Linked DNA regions of Homo sapiens: region 2 is linked to region 1. Evidence: promoter capture Hi-C in human tissues and cell types (Jung and others, 2019). All regions are on one chromosome and are shown on one strand. Each heading gives the region's core, a stretch centred on a gene start or on the middle of the fragment in contact. The rest is flanking DNA. Distances are from core to core; before and after follow the strand shown.

Evidence for each region. The method cuts DNA at HindIII sites, captures the fragments that hold promoters and counts their contacts. A contact is called where the count stands out against the background at its distance.
Region 2: a fragment that was not itself captured here is called in contact with the fragment with the promoter of ANKRD46 in region 1 in 3 of the 25 tissues and cell types used here (heart right ventricle, mesenchymal stem cells and spleen).

Annotation. Positions count from the first base shown.
Region 1 is chr8:100,557,109-100,562,029 of GRCh38, reverse strand. It overlaps ANKRD46 (ankyrin repeat domain 46), which reads left to right and starts at 2,271. Exons shown (of 5, transcript NM_001270377.2): 1 at 2,271-2,319. RefSeq lists enhancers at 1,968-2,107, 2,075-2,369 and a silencer at 2,108-2,277. The HindIII fragment of the contact is 6,170 bases long and covers 154-4,921 here.
Region 2 is chr8:101,277,564-101,282,484 of GRCh38, reverse strand. The region is part of intron 4 of LOC107984005 (a long non-coding RNA gene); the gene reads right to left. Among named protein-coding and RNA genes, the nearest start is that of LINC02844, 17 kb to the right of the region's middle. The HindIII fragment of the contact is 4,866 bases long and covers 381-4,921 here.

The DNA.
Region 1 (4,921 bases), core at 1,022-3,521:
ACCTAAGACTGAGTAATTTATAAGAAAAGACGTGTGATTGACTCACAGTTGAATCACAATTCTGCATGGCTGGGGCAGCCTTAGGAAACTTACAATCATGGCAGAAGGCACTTCTTGACAGGGTGGTAGGAGACAGAATGAGTGCTGAGCAAAAGGAGAAGCCCCTTATAAAACCATCAGATCTCATGAGAACTCACGCGCTCTCATGAGAACAGCATAGGGGAAACTGCCCCCATGATTCAATTATCTTCACCTGGTCCTGCCCTTGACATATGGGTATTATTATAATTCAAGATGAGATTTTGGGCAGGGACACAGCCAAACCATATCAGCTCCTAACAGCCACTGTGTCAAAGTGCCCAGGTGTGGTAACATGAAGGAGCCATAGAATATGTGCAGCATGCAGTTCACTTTAATCTCATCAGAGAAAAAAGCTGTCTTCACCATCCCTACATTTTTTCATATCAATCAAAAGCAGTAATTCATGAAGAGGAAGAGATAAATTTGAATAGAAGTAATGGAGAGGCTCTCAGATTGTTGGATGAGTCAACTAATGAAGAGTAAATCTTATTAATACATTGGGAAAAGCTTTAATTTCCTTGCTAATTTGTCATAGTTTATAGGCATCAGTGAAGATATTATAAACTCAATACACAACCAGAAGGAGGACATCAATAACAAACTGATTAATAAATGTCATCAATTTAACAAGTAATATTGCTGATTAGTCATAGCACAATAAAATGTGAAATGCCCTAAGATCTTATAACTTTTTTTTTTTTGAGATGGAGTCTTGTTCTGTCACCCAGGCTGGAGTGCAGTGGTGAGATCTCGGCTCATTGTGACCTCCGCCTTTTGGGGTTCAAGGATTCTTGTGCCTCAGCCTCCTGAGTAGCTGGGATTACAGGTGTGCAACACCGTGCCTGGCTAATTTTTGTATTTTTGTAGAGCCAAGGTTTCACCATGTTGGTCCGGCTGGTCTCGAACTCCTGACCTCAAGTGATCTGTCCACCCCAGCATCCCAAAGTGCTGGGATTACAGGTGTGAGCCACCGTGCATGGCCAGATCTTATAATTCTTACATGAAAGAAATGTAATAGTGATTTCCTCTAATATGACAATAGTCCTAAACCTTTACATGACACTTTCAAGAACAAATTATTAGATGGTGTAGGTGGTCCTTGAATGAATGAACCATGAGATACCCTAGAGCAGGGGTGTCCAATCTTTTGGCTTCCCTGGGCCACATTGGAAGAAGAATTGTCTTGGGCCACACATAAAATACACTAACACCAGCAATTGTTGATGAGCTAAAAAAAAATTGCAAAAAAAAAAAAACTCATAATGTTTTAAGAGAGTTTATTAATTTGTGTTGGGCTGCATTCTAAACTGTCTTGGCTGCATGCAGCCTGCAGGTGTGGGCCAGGGGTTGGACAAGTTTGCCATAGAGCGTGGCTTGGTTGGATGAGGGTGCTAGAATTCAGAGGACGGTCACTGTGCAGTGAGAGTTGTCTTGGCTGTAGGACTGGAGTTGGTAAAATGAAAAAAAGAAAAAACTAGTTTTGCATGAAAGAATGTTTCCAGCATATGAATGTCCCACCACACTTTTAGTTAGTCTTGGCTGTACATGTTGCAATAAGTCAAGGAACCCTACAAAGTAGGATGGAAGGATTCAAACTGCGAATCGCTTGAACCCGGAAGGCGGAGTTGGAGTTTGCAGTGAGCCGAGGTTGAGCAACTGCACTCCAGCCTGGGCGACAGAGTGAGACTCCGTCTAAAAAAAAAAAAAAAAAAAAAGATTCAAACTGCTTTTGAAAAAAGTAAAAATGCAGGGTTATATTTTAGAAATAGTGCAGCCAATCATTAGTGGCTATTCCTAATATGTCAATTTCGGGTCTATAGAAGACCTACCTAGAGGCCAGCAACTATTAATTGATGCTTATAGCACCTAATGAAACTGCCCTTGCCTTTGAAGCCCCCATTTAGCTAAGGGGATGGGATGTGAATTTAGAATAGGACGTGAAAAGTGCAAAATGCTCCCGGACTCAGATCGGATAAACCTCTTCTAGGCTGTCTTTCTCTTCTGAAGCCACAGTTTTGATGCTTTCCCTAATTCAGAGCAGGCTTTCCCGGAGTCTCTGACTCAGAGCAGCCCGAGCCACCGTGAGGACCGCCCACCTGCAGGGGGCGCGCCGGGGGCTGCAGCGCGAGACCGCTCTGGCCCAGCGGGGACTCCGACTACCCCTGTCTGGCCCCTCCCCTCCGCCCGTCACCGCCTCCTTGAAGCTGCCGCTGTCGCTGCTGCTCGTTCGAGTCGCAGGTACTTGGCCCGGGGCCTGTGGGCAGCGCCTGGGCTAGAGCCACTTGATATCTCCTGCACCGTCCCTGTAGCACTGGAGGTCCAGTAGGCCTGGCCGGGGCCCTGAGGGGCGAGGGTGCCCGGGCTTCCCACACCTTCCGCGGCGACTGGAGGGAGCCGGGCCGAGGAAGCGACCGCGGGTCCGTGATGGCTTCTTCGCGGTCTGTGTGTTCACGAGGGCCGGGCAGAGGCCTGCGAGGGTTCTCGTTTGCGCTTGCGGGTTAGGGCTGTGGTCCGGGGAACCCCTGGGCAGCGCGGGCAGCCCTGGCTCGCGGTTAATCGGGGGGTGGAGCGCGGAAGCCACGCCGCAGGTCCAGCTGCTCGGCCGGGGCGAGACGGTGCTTTCGCGGCGTGTGCTTGCAGGAGCGCACAGTTCAGGCGCCGGGACAAGCTGTTGGGGTGTGAGTGAGCTCTCCAGAATGGCACATGGCTCCGGGGTGCCCGGGTTAAAAGGAAGGATTTGCACACCTTCCACTTAGGGCTCGGGTAATCGCAAACTTCCTCCCTTAATTGGCTTGCAGTGCTAAAAAGCAGATCGTTCTCTCTGAGGTTTTCCCAACAGTACCTCAAGAAAATAACATCTGTTTTTTGTAACGTTCCACGGTATTCGGAATTGGCTACAGAACATAATAAGGTAAAAATATGCCATTGAATAGTAGCGCTTCTCAATCTTTAAAAAATGACGGTGGTACCTAGGAGCCTCTTAAAGAGCTGTAATATGAGTGGTGTGGGGATTATTTTTATGTTCTAGTAATAGCTATTTTCAGTGCTTATTTTATGTCAGACACGGTGCCATTGCTTTAAATACCTGGTACCTTTAATCCTTGAAGCAACCCTATCAGGTACCATTTCCATTATACAGATAAGGAAACTGAGGCACCGAGAGTCTGACTTCTCCAAGGTCAGAAAGCTAGCAAAGGCTGAGCGAGATTTGGTCTCATCTCCCTTACTTCAGTATCCCTGCGTCTGTTATCTAGCCAAACATGTAGCGCTGTCTAAGAGTTTTATCAATTAGATTTGTAGCCTGAACTGATTTCTCTCAGGCTTAGTTTTCATGGTTATATGCAGGAGTCCTACATGAACTCCTTTTTAGTTTAAAAGGAGTTTAGTAAGAAAACTGTTAGCTCATTAAGGACTATAGTGATAATAAAGTTAAACTTGGACTGGGGTTCTCACTGTGCCAGTACAATTTGATTTGAAATAGAGATGAATTTGTTTGGTTGTTAACACACTTTATTACATTTCTTCATTATTTATGTTTCCATACCATTTTTTAGTGAGTTCACTTTGCCTTTGCATTATTATGGTAGCAGTACCAGAGGGAAATCAAAGATTTTTTGATGATAGTAAGTTAATATTTTACAGAATACAGGAAAGGCACTGGAGAGAGGATGTGAAGTGATAAGGAATTTTTGGCATGTTATATAAATTGTGTTACTATGGAAAACAAAGGATTCTCACAGTTCTTTATCAAAAGGGAAATTGTATTTCCCATTGTGGAAATAAGTTGGGCTTTATAGTCCCAAACTTCTTAGCCTTACCTATTATAGATTTAAGAATTTGCATATTCGGCATTCATATAGCAAGCGTATATTGAGTGCCTTCTATGGCCAGGCTCTGTTCTAAGCACTGGGGGATGTGAGAGTGAACAAAATGAAGTCCTTGTCTTCCAGGAGCTAACATGTCACTGGAGGAAGGTGGGGTTGGGGACGATAAGCGGGATTTGTGAAAGTTAACGTATCTGGAGTCAGATGGTAACAGTTACTAGGAATAAAAATAAAGTAGCAAAGGGGGATAGGAAGCACCAAGGAAGGAACAGGTGCAGTTTTAAAATAAGGACTGGTGCCATGGAAAAGACTCAAGCAAAACTGAAGGCGTTGGGGACCGCCATGCAGCTGTCTAGGGAAAGAGCATACCAAGCAAGGGCAAAAGCCCAGAACCCTTCAGTCTTGTTAGAGGGACAGCAAGAGAGGAACAGCAAGGAGGCCAGTAGATTTGAGCACCTGGAGGGAAGGAGGGTGAGACAAGGTCAGAGAGCTAATGGGCCCAGGTAAGGACTTTTGCTTTTACTCTGAGTGAGAAGGGAGGTGTTTGGAGGGTTTTGAGCAGAGGAATGAGGGGATCTGGCTTAAGGTTTTTAAAGGATCACTCTGGCTGCTGTGTTCAGTGTTGACTGTAAGGGCAAGGATGGAAGCAGGGAGACCTGTTAGGTTGATGCAGTAATTGAAGCCAGAGAGAATGGTGGCTTAGACCAGGTGGGTAGTAAGAGAGGCAGTAAGAAGCCGTCGTATTCTGAGTATTGCTGATAGGATTTGCTTATGGTTTGGATGTGCTTATGAGAGAAAGGGTGAAGCACGACCCTGTGGCCTTTGGCCTGAGCTATTGGAAGGCTTTAGTTAAACAGTGTACTGAGATGGAGAAGACTGAGTGTGAAGGTAGGTGGAGCCAGTTTTAGTCAGGTTTGAGATGCCTGTTCAAGTGGGGTTATAGAGACGGGAGTTGAAGAGAAAGGTCCAACTGGAAATAGAAATTTGGGAAGTCACTAATGCAAGCTTGTGCAACC
Region 2 (4,921 bases), core at 1,564-4,063, 720 kb before region 1:
GTGTGCCAGGTAGAGATCTTAGCTCTGTCTTGTAGGCTGTCGGGAGCCACTGAGAAGCCAAGGGGGTCAGAGGGCAGCCAAGAAGTGAAGTGACCTTCTCAGAGTGCCTTCTCCAAAGATGGCTCTGCTAGCTGTTTGGAGGGTAAATTTGAGGGGGCAAGGCTGGGGGCTTCAACATATATTAGGAGGCCACTGCAGTGGTCCAGGTAAGTGCCAGAAAGAACCTGAACTAGCAAGGTAGGCTGCAGATGGAGGAGATGGAGTCAAGAAATGGAGGTGAAGTTCATCTGCGGTGACTAACTCATCGCTGTTTCCCCAGGACTTTCCTGACTTTTGCACTGAAAGTCCCACATCCTGGGAAATTCCTCAGTCCCAGGAAAACTGGGATGATTGGTCACCCTAAATTCCATAGACTGGTTTGACTAAATCGTGGCAAGGGGTGAAGGGAAAGGGAGGAATCAAGAAGGGCAGGTGCAGTGGCTCACGCCTATAATACCAGCACTTTGGGAGGCAGAGGTGGGAGGGTTCTTTGAGCCCAGGAATTTGAGACCAGCGTGGGCAACATAGCAAGAACCTATCCTAAAACAAATATACATTTTTAAAGGAATTAATTTTCTATTTCAGGCTTAAGTAATTGGGGGAAGGGGTTGCCATCACCTGGGACAATGAACACAAAAGAAGCTGATCTTGAAGATAAGATGATGCAGTCGGTTTGGGACAGTAGAATTGGAAGTATCTTTGGGACTTATAGACAGTCATGAAGAGCAGTATTTTGGATTTATTGGGTGTTAGAAGGAACTGTGAGAGTGGTCGACATCATTCCTGGAAAGCCGCAGGATAATGTACTGTGACTAGGAATTCGTTTTCCTTAATGAGTGAAACATCCATGTCCCTGGAATACTGATTTTAAAAATTATGACCATTTCCTGAGATGGTTATGAGGGCTACTCTGATAGAAAACAGTATCCCATGAATGTTTAGAGTTTGTTTATCAAAGCAGCTATGTGTCACTTAGCAGGGCACAGAGCCCTGAACACAGGGAAGGTCTCATGGCATATCCCAGAAAAGTTGAAAACACAAGTCTCCCTGCCTGGGGGAGCTGTCCCCCATGGAATAGGAGGGTTACACTCACCGCCAGGGAGTGTGATGTGAGCAGACCCCTGGGAGGTGGGAGGAAGGCACCAAAAGCAGGGGGGACTTGGAGAAAATGAATGGAAAGTGTTTGACGCCCAGCTTGGCAGGTACATCCGGGGCCTCACCACTGAGTCCTTCACTAATCCGCCCATGACAGGATCTGGTGGTTCTGGCTTAAACCATGATTTACCTTGTTAAATCTTCTCTCTAGTAGCTGCTCACATTGTATAACAACCCTGAGATTCTTTCTTTGGCTTTCTGGGGACCCATAAGCAAGCCAAGGTAATAAACACAATTATAATGGTTAATATAGTTGATTACTTTCTACTTGACACTCTTCTAACTACACACATTAACTTGTTTAATCCTTATAGTAACCTGCCAGATAAGTACTTTCATTACCATCTTCATTTTTACAAATGAAGAAATTGAAGCATAAAGAGATTAGGCAGCTTGCCAAAGTCACTTAGCTGGTGTGTGACAGAGCTGGTGCGTGACTGACACAGCCTTGCTGAATACGGAGTTGGATGCACACGGTGGGCTTGAGATCCCGCACGCCCCAGCTCCAGCGCATCTCCACCCACAGCCCCTGGCCCCCACCACCTCTGCCATCGCAGTCCAGCCTGGAAAGCAGCCTGCAGTCTCAGGTAAAGCAGGATTTTCTCCTGCCTCCAAACACCAGCCCCTGCCCTTCCATGCCTCTAGCTGATGTCCAGGTGTCCCTGACTTCTTCAGCTGCTTTTCAAGAACTCCCTGGCCCCCTCCTTCTTCTTTCATTTTAAACTAACAAATGAGTACATCAATATCCTTTGCTCTTCTGCAGAAAGCATGTTTGTCCTTTTCAGAGAGTTCTATGCTCTGCTGATCTTGACCAGGAGTTGTGGGACCTGGGTTTAACACACAGCATTGTCTTTTACTCTGTGTTTCTGGCTGCCTCCCTTCTTTGGGTCTCTCTGGCTTTCCACGTCTGAAAAATTAAGTTAACTTGATCAGTGATTTTCAACTTAAGAAGGAGCATAGAGAAGGGAGTATCAGAACTGTGGGATACAGAGAGGGCAGGACTACCCATTGTGTGCTCCAGGCTATTCCTAATCACTTTTATCACAATGTACCTGTCCTATGTCCCCTTCTCCCAGGGCTATGCCCTCTAGATGACAGAAAACAAACCTGACAGCTACCATCACGACCCCCTGAGATCCCCATGTGACACTCCCCACCCTACCCCACCGCAGTCCAGATCACCACTGTAGAAGGCTCTTTCTGCTGATAGGAAGGTGGCTCAACCCTTTAGAGTGTTGCACGGGGGAAAGAAAGACTGTGAATCACTCACTGTTCCAGATGATCTTTGGCACACGGCAATGCTTATGTTCTATGAGACTATGATTTCTGTACAATGCCAGTGTGAACAGCTGTTACCTCCTTATCACTTATGCTGCAGAGCAAAGGAAGAGATAATTAGTCTTTAAAAGATGGAAGAAACAGGGGAGGTTGGAGGACAGATAGAATGTGCCAGTGGGTCATGTCATGAGCCACGTAAATGTGTTCCACCATAGTCATCTGGAACACTCCATGTCACCTGTTGCTCTGGGCTATCTGAGAAAGGAGGTAGGTGCCACTTTCCCAGCCCCAGTATAGAGATGTCTTAAGACTCATGACGTCCCACAGCTCCTGTCATTCAGGAACTCTGCCCTGATAGATCTCCCCAGAGAAGGCTTCCCCTGTACCTTCCTTCTTTCAAACCACTGATGTAATCTGTCTCTCTGTTTCTCCATTGCTGTGGGTTACCAACTAGTCAGGTCAAGTCAATACAAGCATTTATGGAGCATCCACAGGTCTATAATTGGTACCCAATGGGGAGCAGGGGAAGAGGGGACAAAAAACAAGTAAGCTTCAGCCCTGCTCTCAGGAAGCTCACAGTCCAGTCTACATACCCACTCGACACAACTTTTTTTTAACTTTTATTTTAGATTCAGGGGATACCTGTGCAGATTTGTTACATGGGCATATTACATGATGCTGAGGCTTGGGCTATGAATGATTCCATCACCAGGTACTGAGCTTAGTACCTGACAGCTGGTTTTTCAACCCTTGCCCCCCTCCCTTCCTCCCTCCTCCCCCTAGTCATCCCAGTGTCTATTTTTGCCATCTTTATGTCCACAAGTACTCAATGTTTTAGTTCCCACTTATAAGTAAGAATATGTGATATTTGGTTTCCGTTCCTAAGTTAGTTCGCTTAGGATAATGGCCTCCAGCTGCATGCATGTTCCAGCAAAGGACATAATTTCATTCTTTTTAATGGCTGCATGGTATTCCATGATGTATATGTGCCACATTTTATTTATTCAGTCCACTGTTGGTGGGCATCCGGATGGATGCCATGTCTTTGTTATGGTGAATAGTGCTGTGATGAACACGTGGGTGCCGGTGTCTTTTTGGTACAACGATTTATTTTCCTCTCGGTACATACCCAGTAATAGGACTGCTGGGTCGAACTGTAGTTCTATTTTTAGTTCTTTGAGAAATCTCCAAATTGTTTTCCACAGTGGCTGAACTAATTTACATTTCCACTAACAGTATGTAGGCGTTCCCTTTTCTCCACAGCCCTGCCAGCATATGTTATTTCTTGACTTTTCAATGAAAGCCATACTGACTGGTGTGAGCTAGCATCTCATTGCCATTTTGATTTGCATTTCTCCGATGATTAGCTATGATGAGCATTTTTTCATATCTTTGTTGACCACTTATACATCTTCTTTTGAGAAGTGTTTGTTCATGTCCTTTGCCCACTTTTTTATGGGGTTATTTGTTTTTTCCTTGTTGATTTGTTTACGTTCCTTATAGATTGTGAACATTAGGCCTTTGTCAGATGCATAGTTTGTGAATATTTTCTTCTATTCTGTAGGTTGTCTGTGTACTCTGTTGATAGTTTCTTTTGCTGTACAGAAGCTCTTAGGTTTAATTAGATCCCATTTTCAACACAACTCTTAAAGGAGAAAAGAGAACAGAGAGAATAAACAGAGAACAAAGCCATGTGTTCATTTACTCACTTGGCAGATTTCTCAGTGCAGAGGTGATCAGCACACCTTGTCTTACCATATCTGAAAGGAATGAAGGCCAGGACTATTTGTTCCTTGCTCCTGGCAAAGACGTTTCTGATTCACCCAGGGCTGGCAGTCCATCCCCACCCAGTGGCCCAGGCAATGACCCATTTCCAGGTGGTTTGGACAGTTGTGGGTAGACCAGAACTCCTCTGACTCCCTTGGAAACTCAGAACACAGGCTTCTATCCCCATAAAAAGATAAACACACCAGTTTGATGCTTCTGCCTAAACTCTCTCCGTAAAAAATTGTTAACACGACAGGGTTTTCCTATTACCATAGTAACCCCTGCATGTGAACAGCAGACTGCAAGGCAAAGAGGATGAAAATGCAGAGGAACCCAAGCTTCAGAATGGCATATTGGAAGAGAGAAGCAGGCAGGTGGAGCTGGTCAGCTGTAGGCCTGACCCTGCTGGGACAGCCTGCAATCTCCACCCAGTCTGATCTGGCTGCCGAGTAAGCTGGTGTGTGATTTCTTTTGCTGCAGTCTTTGCCTACAGAACTGTAGTATCTGGAGGTCCAAGAACAGTGACACTGCCCTAGTCTCCACTGGGTTAACTTTCTACCTATTTCTTTCTTTTCCTTCTTTTTTCAAGAGATCTGGGGGAAGATACTTTTGTTTTCAGATGGTGTCACGATGTGGCATAGTTTGAAAGAGAAAGGATGCAAACAAAGCAGAAAACGATAGG